Regions from separate parts of the Homo sapiens genome. Here region 2 is linked to region 1. The links are contacts of gene promoters, found by promoter capture Hi-C in human tissues and cell types (Jung and others, 2019). All regions are on one chromosome and are shown on one strand. Each heading gives the region's core, a stretch centred on a gene start or on the middle of the fragment in contact. The rest is flanking DNA. Distances are from core to core; before and after follow the strand shown.

What was found. Contacts are between HindIII fragments. The study calls those that stand out against the background at their distance.
Region 2: the fragment with the promoter of GPR42 here is called in contact with a fragment that was not itself captured in region 1 in 3 of the 25 tissues and cell types used here (H1 embryonic stem cells, lymphoblastoid cells and spleen).

Annotation. Positions count from the first base shown.
Region 1 is chr19:35,488,734-35,491,850 of GRCh38, reverse strand. It overlaps KRTDAP (keratinocyte differentiation associated protein), which reads left to right and starts at 1,387. Exons shown (of 6, transcript NM_207392.3): 1 at 1,387-1,495; 2 at 3,011-3,049. The coding sequence starts at 1,409. The HindIII fragment of the contact is 6,388 bases long and covers 1-3,117 here.
Region 2 is chr19:35,369,759-35,372,856 of GRCh38, reverse strand. GPR42 (G protein-coupled receptor 42) reads right to left here and starts at 1,789. Exons shown (of 2, transcript NM_001348195.2): 1 at 1,739-1,789; 2 at 1-1,508. The coding sequence starts at 1,497. The coding sequence ends at 457. The HindIII fragment of the contact is 14,423 bases long and covers 1-3,098 here.

The DNA of each region.
Region 1 (3,117 bases), core at 422-2,921:
ATCTCCAACTGGGCACCCTAAGAGCTGTTTTTTGTTCCCTGTTCCTTGTCATCTTAGCTCAAGACAGTCATTTCTCTGAAGACCCAAGAGTAAAAGACGGGCAGTTGGAAAATGGAAAGGTTCAGCCCCATGAAAGGAAAATGTACACTGTGGCTGAAGGATGCCTGAATACTAAGTCTAACGTATCATATCTGACCAATGCTGACTCTACCTGGGTTCTGTGTGAGCCATGGTTCTAGGGGGATGTAAAGCTGATCAAGATACAGCTCCTGACCTCAAGGAACTTGATACTCTAAAAGGGAAACAAGGCGAGAACATGACTTACTTAGATACAATGCCAGAGACATACAAACGAATGAATATGGGAATTCTGTGAAAGGAAAGGTGTGGAGAGAAGGACTGGGCATTGCAGGAAAAATCTGGGAAGCTTCATCCAAGATGAGTGTTGGGTTCTGAGAACTGGAGATGAGAGAAGGCCATGTTAGGAATAAGGAACAGCATGGCCGGATGCTTTGAAGAGGGAAAAAGAAGGATATAGTTGGTAAGGGGTCTAATTTGGCCAGAATGTGAGGTATGTACAAAGCTAGTAAAGGAAGAAGTTATAAAGGTGGGTTGAGTTCAGAGCATGGACCACCTTCAATGCCAAGCTAAAGAGTTTACATAGATTTTGGTAGGGTGGAAGAAAAGGCCTGAATGAGCATGGAGCGCAGGCTCACACCTATAGTCCTTTGGGAGGTCAAGGCAGGCGGACCCCTTGAGTCCAGGAGTTTGAGGCCAGCTTGGGCAACATGGCGAGACATTTTCATCTCTACGAGAAAATTAAAAAAAAAAAAAGCTGCAACATCTCTACAAGAAAATAAAAAAGTTAGCTAGGTGAGGTGATGCGTGCCTCTAGTCCCAGCTACTAGGGAGACTGAGGTGGGAGGATTGCTTGAGCCTGGGAGGTCAAGGCTGCAGTGAGCTGTGATCACACCACTGCACTCCAGTCTGGGCAACGAGTGAGAGCCTGTCAAAAAAAAAGAAAAGAAAAGAAAAGAAAAAGCCTGAATTCTAAGAGAGGAATGAGGGATATAACGAAAAGAGACAAAGACAAAAGGAGAGGTTGCTTGGGTACCACTGCCAATCCCTTGGAGGGACAGGTCCAACCTGTCTCTGTCCCAGCCCCATCTGCATGAAGAGACCCATTGCAGTGTTACCTTCCACGTGCCTGGGGCAGAATGCGAATTGAGAAATCCGAGGCAAATGAGGAACAGTCCATGCCTCCCCCTCCCAGAGCCCCGGGGGTGGGCGACAAGATCTGGGGGTGAGTCAGTGGGGTGGGGACCCCATTTCTGTGCTCATCTGCCTCCTTGGCAATATAAAGAGCAAGCACTGAGGCCCCGCCTCAGAGCACCCCAAACTTGACGCCATGAAGATCCCGGTCCTTCCTGCCGTGGTGCTCCTCTCCCTCCTGGTGCTCCACTCTGCCCAGGGAGCCACCCTGGGTGGTCCTGAGGTGAGCACGTCACCTGCATTTTTATTCTTATACGTGTTACCCACCTACCCCTCCATCTCTCTACCTCCTGTCCATTCCTGGATAAGTGGCTCTTAGTTTTGGATTCTGATGGGGGCTGAAGAAACTGGGGCTCTGAGGAAGGGAGGAGGGAACAGAGCATCCCTGGGGAGACATTTGGGACAGAGATGCTCCTCTTTCTGGAAGGGATGGTGAAGTGTGTTGGGGAGGCTCGTGTACTGAACCTTGGGACTGAGTGGGTGGTCTGGGTTCAGACTATCTCCACCATGGGCTCTCAAGAGTGTTCACCCATTCCGTTCCAGCTGCACACATGCCTGGGGACGTGCAGGGGAAGAGGGGGAACTGGAGAACGGCAATGTGAGGCAGAGCAGCTCCAAACCCAGGCCTGCATCCACATGGGCAGCAGGTGGAGAGGGTGAAGCAAAGCAAAAAACTAGCTAGTTCTGCCTGCAGCTGACTTAACTCAAAGAGGAGTGGGGCTGGGGTGTTCTGGAGACACCCCTGCTTAGCTCCTCTTTGCTTCATTTGTGCCCCTGGGAGTGGTGCCCAGGTGACGGGTGGCTCCCTGCTGTCTCTGGAGCATAGGCCACAGTGAGAATCTTTACCATCCAGTCCTCAGCCAGAGAGGAATCCTGATGCCTATTCCGGATTTAAAAGTCTAAGACAGGGGCACAGGCTCAGCTGCTAAGGACCAAGCCAGTGGTGTCACTGAGCTGGGGGGGCTGTCAGGGCCTGAGGTGAAATGGGGCCAACTTTCCCAGTCTGAAAGGGCAGCTTTCACCCCACCTGACGCCATGGATTGGGAAGATGTGCCTAGAGTTTTACATTTTTCAGGGGAAACTAGAAATCTGGATGAATTTATGAATTCTTACTAATTCAAAATGTCTAATTCAAACCAAAAAACAAATGACCAAATTTTTATGAGATCTAAGCATCTGGATCCAGCCTGCGGGCTCCGTGTTGGGCTCTGTCATGGGGAAGACACGATGGGACACACTGAGGCCTGGGGTGGGGTCCCCATGGAGGGGGATTATGGAACCTCCAACAGTGGTGGCAATAAATCCACAAAGCAAAGCAACCTCGATCAGTGAGAGGCAGGCGGGTCACCTCAGCAGCTGGGCTCCCACCTGCTCGCAAATCTTTCCCATCCAGCTATACGGACTGAGCGTGGGTGTCTCCAGAACACCCCACCTCTTAGACTTAAGTCAACTGCAGGACAGCACTAGCTAGCTTTTCCGGAGAGGAATGCTCGGCTCCAGGCTTTCTGCCTGCTGCCCATGGTGACACTGCTTACATGTACCATTCTCCAATTCCCCCTCCTCACCCTGCACATCCGCCAACCATGTGCGCGACTGGAACGGAGACCATGGTGGGGAATGGGTTGCGTTCTTTCGGGGACTGGGCTGTGGATGAAGGCAGAGCTGGCAGACAGGGATGTGGGCAAGGGCCCTGGCATCACGTGACCCCCTGCCGCCTTTTCTCCCTCTCCTTTTCCAGGAAGAAAGCACCATTGAGAATTATGCGTCACGACCCGAGGTAAGCCGTCTGTTTTCCCCGGCCCTCCAGCCACGAGTCTGTCCTCTCTCTCTTTTTGCTTCTTAGCA
Region 2 (3,098 bases), core at 540-3,039, 120 kb after region 1:
AAGGCACTGTGGGAGCAGAATGCGGCCTCATCCCTGGAGCCCTGTCTCCCCCGCTCCTGACTCGCTGGCTGGGAGCAGCTCTGAGGATGGGGTTCTCCCCTCTCCTGCCCCTGCCACTCACTGGGCAGCCCCCTCAGACCTGGGCACTGCTCTTAGCTCCTCTGCCACCCTCAAGAAAACACAGGAGCTGCCTGCTGCTATGAGGACCTCATTGTTCTCCAGAGCAGCCTCTCACCCTGACCCCTTCCCAGAGCCCAATCCATAGTGTGTGGGTGGATGGGGATGGAGGTGAGATCGAGAGCTGGGCTTTAGCGCGCATACCCTTAGGGAGGCTAGATGTCTACTCTGCCCCCAAGCCCCATCGGGCCCCAGCTCGCCACTCCAAGTCCCTCCTGGCGTGAGCGAGGAAGCGCCCTGAGGATGACACGCCAGCTACACCCTCCTCCCCCGGAGGACCTAGTTTTCAGCACAGGCCACCTGGCCACCAGTTCCACAGCCCTGTGAGTGTTCACTGGTCTTTCTTTCAGCTGGTCGGTCCGCTCTCTGCTCCTCCCCTCCCTTCTGCTCCTTCAGCTCCATGCTGCTCTCCTGCTGCCACTGGCCCCAGAGCCCACACAACCTCCTCAGCAGCTCATGAAAGTCGGCTTGGAACCCGGAGGAGGAGAAGTAGTAGACAAAGGGGTCGACACAGGAGTTCAGGGTGCTGAGAAGCGTCACGTAGATCCTCCACACCGGGCTTTCACCGCAGATATAGCCCACGACATGGGACACGTTGTAGGGCCCAAAGCAGACAAGGAAGTTGAGCAGCGTGGCCGCCACCAGCCCCGCCACCCTCCTCTGCCGGCGGTGGCTGCCCCCTCTGCCGAGGATCCACACCAGGCGGCTGTAGCAGTAGCTGGTGATGATCAGCGGGACCACAAAGAGGACCACAGCCATCTCCAGCCGCACGGGCAGGAGGATGGCTAGCTGGTCCTTCCAGAACTCCAGGTAGCAGGTCCCATTGGTGCCCTGGCTGTGGGAGATGTCCCCTGAGAATTCTATGACGTAGACCACGCTGCAGTGAGCAGAGGCCAACAGCCAGCAGGCCACACTCACCAGACCTGCCTGCCCCAGCCTCGGCCGGGTCTTGTACCACAGTGGGTGGGCCACACTCAGGAAGCGTTCAATGCTCACAGCTGCCAGGAAGAGGGCGGTGAGATAGATGGTGGTGAAGAAGATGAATCCAGAGAGTGGGCAGAGGATGAAGGGCAGGGGCCAGTGCATGCCATTGGCTGCCTCCACCATGCGGAAAGGCAGGAACAGCAGCAGGAGCAGGTCCGAGGCGGTCAGGTTGAGCAGGAGCACGTCCACGGCCACCGGGCGGCACCGCAGCTTGCCCACGAAGACCACCAGGGCCAGCAGGTTGAGGGGGAGCCCCACCAGGAAAGTGAGAAGGTACACCGAGAAGACGAACCAGTGATTGCCGGAGAAGTAGGACTGGTCGGGGCCTGTATCCATGGTGGTGGCCACTGGTGAGAGAGAGTAACATGGAGTTGGTAGTGGGGGCCCTAACGGCCTCTGGCCAGCAGCATCTCCCCTAAAAGGGCACGAGGTCACTACGCCCACCCCTCTTGTCTCTGGGTGCCTTCCAGGCGGGGTCAGCCTGCCTGTCTTCCTGAGCATGCCCTGTCCCCTGTCCCTTCCCCAGCAGAGAAGCACCAAGGTGCTCCTCCACCCAGCCCCTCGGGCCCAGGCTCACCTGCTTCTTTGAGACCCCAAATGCTCTGCCGCACAGCACCTTGCTGTCTCTCCAGACCTAGTGCAGTTGGCTATTTATCCGGCAGAACTGATAAAGACCTGGCCGTGCCCATGACATCACTCACTGTTGAGCAGTGGCACAAAGATGCCTTGAGCTCCGTTGCCAGGGCTGGTCAGTATGCAAAAAGGGGAACAAATTCCACAACTGCGTGCCTCCCTCCTTGCGCAGCCTCAGCTGGGATGCTCCAAACAGGCCCCAGCTGACGTCTTCTTCCCCTCCCCTCTCTTCCACTTGAATTTTGTCTGATTCTCTAGAATGGCACTTATCCAGTTTGCCTTTTAAGGGCACAAAGCATGAGCCAGTGACAGACTGGACTCCGTGAGGTCTGTTCCTTCCTGACTTTGTGATGTGGGGGAAGAGATGTGTCTCTTCTTCCTCCCCTACAGAACAGGGATTGTCATAGTACCTGTACCATATTTCAAAGCATGAACACATGCAGATTAAAACATATATACAGGTAGATTAAAATGTTAATAATATAGGTCAATTGCTTTTTGAAAATATTTATTTTAGATTCGGGAGCACATGTGCAGGTTTGTTACATGGGTATATTGCATAATACTGAGGTTTGGGCTTCTATTGAACCCATTACCAAAATTGTGAACATAGTACCCAATAGGCAGTTTTCCCACCCTTGTCCTCCGCCCTCCCTCCCCCACTTTGGAGTCCCCACTGTCTATGGTTTCCATCTTTAATGTTTGCGTGTACCCATTGTTTACCTCCCACTTAAAAGTGAGAACATACAGCATTTGATTTTCTGTTTCTGTGTTAATTCACTTAGGATCATTCACTTAGGCCTCCAGCTGCATTTATGTTGCAGCAAAGGACATGATTTCATTCTTTTTTATAGCTGCATAGTATTTCGTGATGTGTATGTACCATTTTTTCTTTATCTAGTCCACCATTGATGGGCACCTAAGTTGATTCCATCACTTTGCCATTGTGAATAGTGCTGTGACAAACATACACATGCAGGTGTCTTTTTGGTAGAATGATTCCATTTTATGAAAAATGACATTGATAATTTGGTAGGAATTGGGTGGAATCTGTAGATTGCTTTGAGCAGTATGGACATTTTAATGATATTGATTCTTCTAATCCATGAACATGGAATGTTTTTCATTTATTTGTGTTTTTTAGTTCTCCTTGTAGAGATCTTTCACTTTCACTTCCTTGGTTAGATGTATTCCTAGGTATTTTATTTTTGTGTGTGGCTATTGTAATTGGGATTCTGTTCTTTATTTGGCTCACAGCTTGACAATTGTTGGTATATAGTAATGCTACTGATTTTTATACACTG